Regions from separate parts of the Homo sapiens genome. Here all the other regions are linked to region 3. The links are contacts of gene promoters, found by promoter capture Hi-C in blood cells and fetal thymus (Javierre and others, 2016). All regions are on one chromosome and are shown on one strand. Each heading gives the region's core, a stretch centred on a gene start or on the middle of the fragment in contact. The rest is flanking DNA. Distances are from core to core; before and after follow the strand shown.

The links. Contacts are between HindIII fragments. The CHiCAGO score rates a contact against its expected background, and 5 or more counts as called.
Region 1: a fragment that was not itself captured here is called in contact with the fragment with the promoter of SLC66A2 in region 3 in 2 of 17 cell types (M2 macrophages and total B cells); the score reaches 6.1 in M2 macrophages.
Region 2: a contact is called between a fragment that was not itself captured here and the fragment with the promoter of SLC66A2 in region 3, in 1 of 17 cell types (neutrophils). The highest score is 5.4, in neutrophils.

The regions. Positions count from the first base shown.
Region 1 is chr18:79,810,749-79,814,980 of GRCh38, forward strand. All of the region lies in intron 1 of KCNG2 (potassium voltage-gated channel modifier subfamily G member 2), which reads left to right. Among named protein-coding and RNA genes, the nearest start is that of KCNG2, 15 kb to the left of the region's middle. The HindIII fragment of the contact is 173 bases long and covers 2,648-2,820 here.
Region 2 is chr18:79,762,726-79,767,168 of GRCh38, forward strand. No RefSeq gene overlaps it. Among named protein-coding and RNA genes, the nearest start is that of KCNG2, 33 kb to the right of the region's middle. The HindIII fragment of the contact is 4,886 bases long and covers 1-4,173 here.
Region 3 is chr18:79,949,391-79,953,482 of GRCh38, forward strand. It overlaps SLC66A2 (solute carrier family 66 member 2), which reads right to left and starts at 2,263. Exons shown (of 6, transcript NM_025078.5): 1 at 2,191-2,263; 2 at 1,334-1,635. The coding sequence starts at 1,536. LOC124904336 (a long non-coding RNA gene) reads left to right here and starts at 3,419. Exons shown (of 2, transcript XR_007066429.1): 1 at 3,419-3,689; 2 at 3,886-4,092. RefSeq lists silencers at 1,545-1,664, 1,705-1,784, 2,105-2,614, 2,745-2,794. The HindIII fragment of the contact is 12,677 bases long and covers 1-4,092 here.

The DNA.
Region 1 (4,232 bases), core at 1,484-3,983, 140 kb before region 3:
GTGAGATGCTGTATAAAAAGACAAAACAAACCAAAAAACGTAGAAAAAAACTAGAAGTAAATATATGCACAGTCTCTGAATGATGAGGACTGTCCAACCTTAGAAGCATGAGTCAGGCTCTTCTCAAAAACAAAAACAAACCAGAACTTAGAGTCAAACAATACTCAAAACTCAGCGTGTTGTTGTATACTAGCAATGAAAAACCTGGAAAGGAAATTAGGAAGACAATTTACTATAGCATCAAAAAGAGTAAAACCCCTAGCAAGAAATGTAACCAAAGAGGTGTAAGACTTGTATGCTGAGAACTACAGAACATTGCTGAAAGAAATTACAGACCTAAAGAAATGGAAAGACATCCCATGTTCACGGATAGGAAGACTTAACATTGTTAAGGTGGCAATACTCCCAAACTGATCTATAGATTCAATACAATTCCTATCAAAATCCTAGCTGACTTTTTGCAGAAATGGACAAGCTGATGCTAAAATTCATATGGAATTACAAGGGACCAAAGTAAGTGAAAAAAATCTTTAAAAAGAACAAAGTTGGAGTTCTCACACTATTTATTAAAACTTACTACAAAGCTACAGTAAGCAAAATAGTGTGGTATTGGCATAAGGAGAGACATATTGATCAATGGAATACAATTGCAATTCTAGAAATAAACCTATACATCTGTGGTCAGCTGACTTTTGATGAGAGTGCCAAGACCATGCAATGGAGAAAGAATAGTCTCTTCAGCAGATGGTGCTGGGACAACTGGATTCCACATACAAGAGAATAAATATCCAAAATGTCCATGATACAATAAAAAAAAGTCACTCACCAAGAACCAAGAAAACCAGAACATAAATGAAAAAAGACAATTAACAGACACCAACATCAAGCTGAATCAGATGTTGGTTTATATGACTACTATTTTAAAGTAGGCTTCACCAATCAACGATGGGTTTAAAATGCTTCACCAATCATGTATTTTCCTGAAACAAATGAAGGAATAGAAAATCTTAGCAAAGAAATGAAAGATATAAAAAAGAAAAAGATGAAATCACGTAACTGAAATATATAACAACAGTTTTTTAAACTCTGACTGCATGGGGTGAACAGTAAAGGGGAGATCACGCTGGATGGAATTAGTGAACCTGACCCACAGAAATTACCCAACATCAACAGAAGAGAGAAGAAAGACTGGAAAGCATGGGCAGAGAGTCACAGGGAGTTGTGTGACGATAACAAAAGTATTAATACTTGTATCATCAGGCCCCAGAAAGAGAGGAGAAAGAGTGGGGCTGAAAAAGTATTTGAAGAAAGAATGCCCCCAAAACCTCCCAGATTTGGCAAAAGACATAGATCTACAGATTCAGGAAGCAGAAAGACAACAGGAAAATCTCCAGATACTTGGAAATTAAATAACATGCCTTAAAATTATCTATGGGTCGAAGAGGAAGTCTCAAAGGGAAATTCGAAACACATAGAACTGAATGAAAGTGAAAATACAGCAGAGCAGCATATGTGAGATACGGTCGGAACAGTTCTTGGGGGAGGTTTATAACATCCAGTGCTTAGATTAGAAGAGACAAAAGGTCTCAAAGTAATATTAATAATATGTTACAAAATTGAATTAATTCTTAAAAAGTCCTGAAAAATCTCCAGACCTGGTGATTTTACTGGAAAATTCTACCAAATACTTAAAGAAGAATTCATTCTACCAAACATTCAAAGAAGAGAAGGGAACCCTTCCTCACTCAATGTGAGGTTTAATGAGGTCAGCCATACCTGGCGACCACATTAAACAAAGACATTACAAAAAAAGAAAACTAGAAAACTATAAGCCGGGCCTGGTGGCTCACGCCTGTAATCCCATCACTTTGGGAGGCCAAGACAGGCAGATCACTTGAGGCCCAGAGTTCAAGACCAAGCTGGCCAACATGGCAAAACCTCATCTTTACTAAAAATACAAAAATTAGCCAGGCGTGGTGGTGCGCACCTGTACTCCCAGCTACTCAGGAGGCTGAGGCGCGAGAATCACTTGAACCCAGGAGGCAGAGGTTGCACTGAGCCGAGATCGCACCACTGTAGTCCAGTCTGGGTGATAGAGCGAGACTCTGTCTCAAAAATAAGTAAATAGGCCAGGCACAGTGGCTCATGCCTGTAATTCCAGCACTTTGGGAGGCCAAGGAGGGCGGATCACGAGGTCAGGAGTTTGAGACCAGCCTGGCCAACATGGTGAAACCTCATCTCTCCTAAAAATACAAAATTAGCCGAGTGTGGTGGCGGGTGCCTGTAATCCCAGCTACTCACAAGGCTGAGGCAGGAGAATCGCTTGAACCCAGGAGGGGGAGGTTGCGGTGAGCCGAGATCGCGCCATTGGAATCCAGCCTGGGTGAGAGGGTGAGACTCCATCTTAAAATAAATGAATAAATAAATTTAAAAATAAAAAAAGAAAGCTATAGACCAGTATCTTTCACGAATTCACATGCAGAACCCTCAACAAAATATTAGGAAATTGAATCCAGCAATGAATAAAGTTGCTGCACCAAATGAGATTTAATCCAGGCACACAAGTCTGGTTCAACATTCTGAGTCAAACACTGTACTCCACCATATCAACAGAAGAGATATACAATCATATTAATTGATGCAGAAAAGCTTTTGACAAATCCAACATCTACTCACAATAAAAACTCCCAGAAAACTAGAATTAGATCCTCAATTTGATAAAGAACATCCACAAAAAATCCACATCTGAAGCCTTTTCAAGAAATGTTGTAGGTGCAGTTGGTCATCCATGGGTGGGGTAGCGTGGAGGGAGGATGGAGAAGCTTATCCTAAACCTTCCACCTGCTACACAAATCAACTAAAAGCAGATCACAGACTTAAATGTAAACATAAAACCATAAGAGTTCTAGAAAAGATAGGGGAAATTCACTGGGACACAGGGGTAGGCAAAGCCTTCTTAGACTTGACAACAAAGGTATAACCCATAAAAAGTAAACTTGATAAATTGGACCTCATCAAAATTAAAAACTGCCCTGCAAAAGACATTTTAAGAGCATGAAGCGTAAAACTACAGAATGGGAGAAAATATTTGCAAACCACGTATTCACTAAAGGACCAAAGTTTGGAATATATAAAGAACTCTCTAAATCACCGGTAAACAAATATTCAAAACATGTCCAGTTAGACATGTACAAGATGTGTGCACAGACCTTTCACTGTGGAAAACTCATGGAAGGCAGACAAGCAGGTGCAAAGACACCTAGCACCGTCAGCCTTTAGGGAAATGCAAATTAAAACCACTGTGCCCCTACACATCTACCAGAGTGGCTGAAATCAATAGAAAATATTGACAACACCGAATGCTGACAAAGATGCAGAGAAATGACCTTTCATGCCTTGCTGGGAATGTAAAATGGCTCAGCAACTCTAGGAAACAGTTTGGCTGTTTCTGATAAAACTAAACATGTCACTCCCGTATGACCCAGCAATTGTGATCTTGGGCATTTATCCCAGAGAAATGGAAAATATATTCACATAAAAACCTAGACACAAATTTTCATAATGTTATTACTAACAACCAAAAACTGGAATTGTCCCAGAGACCCTTCCACAGGTGATAGTTCGACGATCACACTTCTGTACTGCGGAATACTCTCAGTAGAAAGGGATGGGTTATCGGTACACACAGCAGCTTGGATGAATATCCAGGGAATTATGCTGTGTGAAGAAAGCCAGTCTCAAAATAATCAGACTCTGCCATTCCATTTGCACGGCATTCTTGAAAGGACAAGCTTATAGAGATGAGAGCAGATTAGGGGCTGCCAGGGTTTTACAGAGCTGGGAGGGGGTGGCAGGAGTGACACTGCCTGCGTGGGTCAGCATCAATCCTGGCGGTGAGATTGTACTGCAGTTTTGCAAGAGGCCACCATTGGCGGAAACTGGGTAAAGGGTACAGGGGATCCCTTTGTATTGTTTCTTGCAACTGCATGTTAATCTATTATTAATCTCAAAAGGTTTAATTCTAAAAATGTATATGTATATGCATAAAGGCTTAGTAGAAGTTCTGGGTAAATAAGTCACCTTAAAAGTAGTTACCTGTGGGGAGCGGATTTGTTTTGAAGGGGGAAGGGTGAGGATGGCCATGTGCTTTTACCCTGTGTGCTTTTTTTTTTTTTTACGATGAAAATACATTTATGTTTTAGTAGTGTAATTTCAAATATAAACAGATTAGG
Region 2 (4,443 bases), core at 481-2,980, 190 kb before region 3:
TTTGCCCATTTTTGTACTCAATACGGTCTTCAGCTTACCATGGTTTGACAACAGTTTTTTGACTTTAGACTGGTTCCAAAGGGATACACATTCACTAGAATCTGTGCTCCAAGTATGCACACAGCCATTCTGCTTACCAGTTTCAGTTCAGTAGTCAGTACATCACGAGATATTCAGCACTTCATTATAACATAGGCTTTGTGTCAGACAAGTTTGCCCAACTGTCGGCTAACATAGGGTTCTGACACGTTTAATCTGGGCTGGGCTAAGCCATGATGTTTGGAGAGTTAGTTAAGTGTTCAAATGCATTTCCAACTTGGGACACTTGGGTTTATCAGGACAGGACCCCATGGTAAGTAGGGAGGGAACCTGTTCTTTCTGACTTCTCGTGTGCTTCAGGGTTTTGTCCGTGCACACAGCCGTGGTCCATCACTGCCCTCCGTGCTCAGCGATGTTTCTGTTCCACAGCTTGTCCTCCTTTTGCCGGACGTTTGTGTTGCTTATGGCTCTTTTTATGCAAATGCAGCTGCCTGAGCATTCTTTACCTATGTCCTGATCCATTCGTGAATGAGCCTCTGGGGTTAAATACCCACAAGTAGAGTTACTGGGACTGGGGGGCACCCCAGTGCAGTTTTCCTGGATAGTGTGGAATTAGTTTCTCAGTCATTGATGCTGGTTTGCACTCCCTCCCAGTCAGTGATGCTGCTTCACACTCCCAGTCAGTGATGCTGGTTCACACTCCCTGCCAGAGATGCTGGTTCACACTCCCAGTCAGTGATGCTGGTTCACACTCACTCCCAGTCATTGATGCTGGTTCACACTCTCTCCTAGTCAGTGATGCTGCTTCACACTCCCTCCCAGTCAGTGATACTGGTTCACACTCACTCCCAGTCATTGATGCTGGTTCACACTCTCTCCCAGTCAGTGATGCTACTTCACACTCCCTCCCAGTCAGTGATGCTGGTTCACACTCCCAGTCAGTGATGCTGGTTCACACTCCCAGTCAGAGATGCTGGTTCACACTCACTCCCAGTCATTGATGCTGGTTCACACTCCCTCCCAGTCAGTGATGCTGCTTCACACTCCTGCCCAGTCAGTGATGCTGGTTGACACTCCCTCCCAGTCAGTGATGCTGGTTCACACTCCCCACACCTGGTCAGCCAAAAACGGCTTTTCCAACAACAGAAGGACCTGAAGGGAAACCTCACAGCAAGCCCCTCCCAGGTGGGCAAAGTTATGTCTTCAGAGAGAATATTCTAAACCCTCGGAGCTGCAGAGCCAGAAAGCTGGGGCCCAGGCAGTGTCGTCAGCCTTCCCAAAGTGTCTGCACGAGCTCATTCCCACAGTTGATGGAATGACATTTAACTGTCACCTTTCTCTAGAAGTGACTGCAAAGCACAGAGATTGGTCTTCAGGCTCCTGGACAGTTCCCTGCAGGGCCTGGTGGGTGGTGACCGTGTGGCTGGCAGCTCGCAGTTGATGGAGACTGTGTAGCCATCAGATATGATGTCAACACAAGACACCAGTTTTTAGGAAACAGCCTCCAAGGTACTGCTTGATGCATTCACCATGGGTCGTGTGCCTGGCCAGCCTCTACCTGCCTGGGAAGCTCCTTCACCTGGGGATGCCTCTGCTGGTTTTCCTGAGACACAGCCCTTGGGGGCACTGATGGTCCCCGGGTGACCAGGGTCACCAGCAGCGTAGTCCCAACCCCATGTGTGAGTGACCAGGGTCACCAGCAGCGTAGCCCCAACCCCATGTGTGAGTGACCAGGGTCACCAGCAGCATAGCCCCAACCCCATGTGTGAGTGACCAGGGTCACCAGCAGCATAGCCCCAACCCCATGTGTGAGTGACCAGGGTCACCAGCAGCGTAGCCCCAACCCCATGTGTGAGTGACCAGGGTCACCAGCAGCGTAGTCCCAACCCCATGTGTGAGTGACCAGGGTCACCAGCAGCGTAGTCCCAACCCCATGTGTGAGTGACCAGGGTCACCAGCAGCGTAGCCCCAACCCCATGTGTGAGTGACCAGGGTCACCAGCAGCGTAGTCCCAACCCCATGTGTGAGTGACCAGGGTCACCAGCAGCGTAGCCCCAACCCCATGTGTGAGTGACCACGGTCACCAGCAGTGTAGCCCCAACCCCATGTGTGAGTGACCAGGGTCACCAGCAGCATAGCCCCAACCCCATGTGTGAGTGACCAGGGTCACCAGCAGCGTAGTCCCAACCCCATGTGTGAGTGACCAGGGTCACCAGCAGCGTAGTCCCAACCCCATGTGTGAGTGACCAGGGTCACCAGCAGCATAGCCCCAACCCCATGTATGAGTGACCAGGGTCACCAGCAGCGTAGTCCCAACCCCATGTGTGAGTGACCAGGGTCACCAGCAGCGTAGTCCCAACCCCATGTGTGAGTGACCAGGGTCACCAGCAGCGTAGCCCCAACCCCATGTGTGAGTGACCAGGGTCACCAGCAGCATAGCCCCAACCCCATGTGTGAGTGACCAGGGTCACCAGCAGCGTAGTCCCAACCCCATGTGTGAGTGACCAGGGTCACCAGCAGCATAGCCCCAACCCCATGTGTGAGTGACCAGGGTCACCAGCAGCGTAGTCCCAACCCCATGTGTGAGTGACCAGGGTCACCAGCAGCGTAGCCCCAACCCCATGTGTGAGTGACCAGGGTCACCAGCAGCGTAGCCCCAACCCCATGTGTGAGTGACCAGGGTCACCAGCAGCGTAGCCCCAACCCCATGTGTGAGTGACCAGGGTCACCAGCAGCATAGCCCCAACCCCATGTGTGAGTGACCAGGGTCACCAGCAGCATAGCCCCAACCCCATGTGTGAGTGACCAGGGTCACCAGCAGCGTACCCTGGCCCCATGTGTGAAAGTGTGGTTTTGTCCTAGGTCCAGGAAACCCATTTCCAGCCCCGTAGGGTGGATCCCAGGGCTCTCTGAGTCAGAGCTGCCCAGATGGCCAGGACTGCTTCTTTGGAAAAGCAACAATGATTAGTGAGATGATGCAGAGGGCAGATGCCACGTCTGCCTTCAGCCCTGGTGTTGGGAACGTGGCTGCTGTGCCCACACCCCAGGCTTCTGAAGAGAGGAGAGCTGGGCGTTGGCACCATTTGAGCCCCTAGGATTATTTTTTGTTGTTAGAACTAGTTTCTAAAGATTCATTTTTAACATTTTGCAGTGAAGAAGGAAGGAAAGATGTCAGTGAGCGCCCCGTGAACAGTCAGCTCGTGACACCTGCCGGGGATAACGAAGACGCTGTCAGCAGCTGGAGGCTGAGCTCTAAGCAGTGCTTTCCCAAGGAGGCCTGGAAAGGCAGTTGTCTGAAAGTCAGAAACTGGCTCAGCCCGAACTGACAGAATGACTTACAGATGAGCTGCCTTGGCCAGAGATAAACATCCCTGTGGTTGGGTTATGTATTTGTCAAGGACAATTAAGAGGCACTTTCTTTAAAAAGCACAATTCTCCAGCAACCTCGAGATCTTTGGAAGAGTCGGGAAAGTGCAGTGATGAGTTCTGCTGCACCCTGAGACAGACAGAAGGCGACGACCGGACAGAAAATGCCTTGAAAGTCATTCAGATGTCACCTCAAACCTCCCTTCATTCCAGGCAGTTCCCGGAAGATGCATTTTGATCATCGAAGGCGTGAGTCTGCTGCATGCGTTGCCTTGACACCTGGCGCCAACGCTGCTGTTTCTTTTCAGGTGAGAGCTCAATTAGGCTGAAAGCTGTACCCACCTCTCCTGCACTTCCCAGGCCTAGAGCAGCAGGGTGCCTGCAGCGGGGCCTCTCGTGCTTGAGGGAGGCACAGGTCCGGAAAAGGAGCCTGACCCGCCCCAGGAGGGCCCTGTGCTGCCCGAGCTGAGACCCCAGGACACCCCTCCCAGGCCCGGACCCTGCGGCCCTCATGGAACTCACCAGTGTGCACGCTGGGAATAAACGTGGATGTGCAGCCTGGAACCTTCGTCTCTAGGTCAAGAGGGAACCTAGGGTGTGTTTCCCTCCTCTTCCGGCTTAGCTGGGGGTTGGAAGGGGCTGTTGGTCCTTCTCTCTTCTCCCCATTGTTATCCTGTTGGTCCACTGCAGCCTGGGCTCCTGGAGAGAAGAGCGCAGCCCAGCCTCCTCTTCTGCTCCCGTTGCCCACCCATAAGAAGTGCTTGCACAAGCTTTGTTTCTCCCATGTTCCTCCTCCCGTCCATGCCTCCCACCCGCAGTCCTTCTCCTTCCAGCTGTTTCCCATCCTTGCTCTGCCCACCAGGAGAGCTCTGCTCATCGCAGGAGGCCAGACTCCTGGAATGTTTCTCCCAAAGTCCGCCACTTCCAGCCTTAATTCCATCTCACCTTTTTTATTAAAAAAAAAAAAAATGTTGATGGACTCCAGAATGGCTTGTTAGACACTGCTAGGAACCCCACAACTGAAAATCGCTCACTGTG
Region 3 (4,092 bases), core at 1,013-3,512:
CGCGGTGGCTCACGCCTGTAATCCCAACACTTTGGGAGGTCAAGGTGGGTGGATCATGAGGTCAAGGGATCGAGACCATCCTGGTCAACATGGTGAAACCTGGTCTCTACTAAAAATACAAAAATTACCTGGGTATGGTGGCAGGCACCTGTAGTCCCAGCTACTCAGGAGGCTGAGGCAGGAGAATCACTTGAACCCAGGAGTCAGAGGCTGCAGTGAGCCGAGATTGTACCACTGCACTCCAGCCTGGCGACAGAGCAAGACTCTGTCTCAAAAAAAAACAAAACAAAACTAACAGGCAAAGAAGCAGGTACGTGATTACTCAGTGACCAGAGTCAGAAGCAGAGTTCTTGACACCAGCTGCCTGGACTCCTTCTCTCCACCCCTCCACCAGGCCCTCTTCATAGGAAGAGCAGCAGACACCTTCCAATCTGCCCGGACAGAGAGGCTGGGATCACCCAGAAGAAAGAAAAATTTCAGACGTTTTTGGCCTTAGAATGCAGCTGTGAGACCTCATTTCCTCTGAAAACTCACCCTCCCAATTATGTCTGCCTTCAACAACTGTTAAAATTAATTTCAATTTCCTTAGCCTAATACAAATACAAAGAGGAAGTTGGGGAGAGGAACAAGACAGTCTCCAGAGAGAGTGACTTCCTATTTAAATAAGGCAGGCCAGGCGCCGTGGCTCAGCTTGTAATCCCAGCCCTTTCAGAGGCCCAGTGGGGAGGGATGCTTGAGGCCAGGAGTTCGAGACCAGCCTGGGCAACAAAGTGAGACAACCCCCCACTCCCCTGTCTCTACAAAAAATACAAAAAAAACAATTAGCCGGGTGTGGTGGTGCGCCTGTGGTCCCAGCTACTCGGGAGGCTGAGATGGGAGGATCACCTGAGCCCAGGAACGTGGAGACTGCGGTGAGCTGTCATGTCATCATGCACTTCAGCCTGGACCACAGAGCAAGACCCTCTCTCAAAACAACAAAGAAAAACTATACAACATGAAAAAGGAGGGCAGGAACGGCTCCTCTCCACAGGCAGGCCTAGGCCAGTGCCCAGCTGAGAGGTCCCTGCTAAGTACCCATGTGGAACATCATGCAAGGAGGCGGATCTGGAGATTTTCTCTGAGATTCTGTGCTCCAACCCCACCGTTTTTCTGGAAAAATAATCTCACCCTAAGAAGTGACTTGCCTGCAGCCACGTACCCCATCCACGGCAGAGTGGGACGCTGGCCCAGCAGGGAGGTGTGGACCCTGCTGCTCCCCCGGCCTCAACCAGAAACCCCAAAGGAGAAACCCTCTTCTCCGGGTGCAGCCCAGGAAAGCAAGCCCCCAACTTACCAGAAGAGTATCCGCAAAATGTTGGCCACCAGCAGCACCAGGCACACGTAGGTGGAGAAGCCGTCGGCGTTCTGCGTCCTGCGAATGTCCCGATACTGCGGGACGTAGGGCACCACCCCTCCGAAGACCATGGCCGCGGCCGCGCCCCAGGACACCAGCTGGTGCAGTGGCACCAGGAGCCAGTCCAGGCCCTCGGCCTCCATCGCAGCGCCCGCCTGGCCGAGGCTGTCACGGGCTCCGCGCCCCGCGGGCCACCGGCCGCCTGCTCATCGCCGCTCCGCGCGCTCCTGCGGCCTCGGGGCCTGCGGGGAGCGGGGAGCTGCTCGAGTTCCGCCCAGGGAGGCTGGGGCGGCGCGCACGGACCCGACCCGACCCGCGCCAGCCGCAGGACCCGAGGCAGAGCGGGGGCGACCGGGGCCCGGGGCGCGCGAGGAGCGGCCCCTGCCTGGGACGGGGGGGTGTCTGGGGGTCCCGAGACGCTCCCGGAGGGGGCTGGGGAGGGGTCCCAGCGCCGGGGTCGAGGACGGGCGAAGCCCCTGGGGTCACCGCCCGGGTGCGCTTAGCCGGCGGGGGTCCACGCGCGCCCCGGGATGGGGTGGGGGAGGGGGCGCAGGGCCCAGGATCGGGGCGCACTGTTCGGGGGAGGGTCACAGGGCCTAGCATGGGGGCGCACGGCTCGGGGGAAGGGGGCGCAGGCCCAGGATGGGGGCGCACGGCTCGCGGGAGGAGGTGCCGGGCCGGGGACCCCACAGGACCAAGCCAGGGGACTGAAGGCCGCGACCAACTGCCCCGGCCCTGCGTCCTCGGCCGCCCTAGGCCGCCCCCCGAGGACCCCGCGCCGCCCCCGCGCTCCTTACCTGCGCCCCCAGCCCCGCGCCCAGCGCCCCGCGTCCCCGCGCCGCTGACCCGCGCGCGTCTCGGCGTCAGTCCGCTCAGGCGCCGGGAAACCCCGCCCCGTGACGTCACAATGCCGGGCCCCGCCCACGCCGGAGCTGCGCGGAGGCGCCGCGGTGTCCTAGAGCGCGCTGGGCAGGGCGGGCGCAGGCGGGGCCGGGAGCCGGGGCTGTCGGGGCGGTGGGGGCGCGTGGCTCCTCCCGCCCGGTCGGGAAATACCAGCCGGGCGGGGCCGGTCCCTCAGGCCTGGCGCCCACGTTAACCCGTCTCCAGCTGTCCCGGCGCGCGGCCATCCAAGCGGAGGGCGTCGTCCTGGAGGGCCGGGGGCGCGGGGTCCGGACGCCCCTCTCACGCGTGTCCTGAATGCGGGCCACCCGGGGACGAGTCTCGTCCAGCTCTGTCCTGACCCAGGAGACCCGGGGACCCGGCTCGGAGTTTGCAGCGCCCAGAGGCGGCCGGGGTCTCGGGAAACGGAGCGCCCCCCGCGGGTCTCCGCTCCGATGCAAGTGCCCCACGAGCAGATGCGCCGGGGCCGTCGCCGGGGGGCCGGCTGGACGCGCGGCCGTCACCGTGGCCATTGTCATTATCGTGGTTGCGGCCACGGTCGCTGTCGCTGCAGAAACGCGGGGCGGCCTCTCCCCATCCCCGTGTAGTTCTCCGGGCTGAACCGTTGGGCGCCTATTTGCAGAAAAGGCAGCTCCTGAGCCTCAAGACAGACTCGGGGGCCAGGCGTGCGTGAAGCCCGGGCCCTGCTGCCGGCCTCGCGTGCCAAGCCAACTCCGAGCCCCACACCCGCCCGCGGGGAGCTGCCCTCGCCCGGGACCCTCTTGGCCCGCGCGGGTGAGGACTGAGGGCGAGGGGCGCGTGGATGAGGGGCGCGCGGGTGAAGAGTGAGGGGAGCGCGGGTGAAGTGTGAGGGGAGCGCGGGTGAGGGGTGAGGGGCGCGCGGGTGAGGGGTGAGGGGAGCGCGGGTGAGGGGTGAGGGGTGAGGGGAGCGTGGGTGAGGGGTGAGGGGTGAGTGATGCGCGAGTGAAGGGTGAGGGGCGCCTGGGTGAGGGGTGAGGGGTGAGGGGCGCGCCGGTGAAGGGTGAGGGGAGCGTGGGTGAGGGGTGAAGGGTGCGCGAGTGATGGGCGGGTGTGTGTAGGGTGAGGGACGCGTGGGTGAGGGGCGCGGGGGTGTGAGGCGAGGGGTGCACGGGTAAGGGGCGAGCCGCGAGGTTGAGGGGTCCACGCTGAGGGTTGCTTCCCCGCCAGCCGCGGCCTCTTCTCCACGATCCCGGCCCCCTGCCCCCTGCCCCCTGCCCGACTGGTTTTATGGGGGATCATAAGGACAGTCACCACCTAACTAGGAGCAAATCCCCAACAATCGAGGAAACAGGGCGCTCCTGCCTTGCGCCCCCAGGCTGGCGTTGGAACTTCTTTAGAGCCAGCGCTGCGGAGCCCCAGCACCAGGAACGTAGAGGTGAGTAAAAGGCACAGCAGGAAGCCTGGGAGAGAAAAAGCAGCTGCCCCTGCTCAGCCGCGCCCTAGCCTGAGCCCAGCAGCCTTTGGGATCATCTGTCCTCTCTGCCCTGGAGGTTGGAGTAAGCTCCGGACCTCCTTGACCCTCACGGGAGCACTGGGGTCCCAGACGCTATCCTCGGTTATCTTAAATCCAGAGGCTGTGGAGGCATGGGGCAAATTGTGCCCGCAGCCTGGGGCCTAGAGCTGCATCTGTGCACGGGGCCTCCAGGAGCCCGGCTCAGTGGACGAAATCTGGCATGCTCGGACGTCACCCCACAGGCCTCACGCCTCAGAGGCACCCCGAAAGGTGAGTTGATGACTGCAGAGTGAGTTTGTACCTTTTCGAACACCACCTGCCGGGG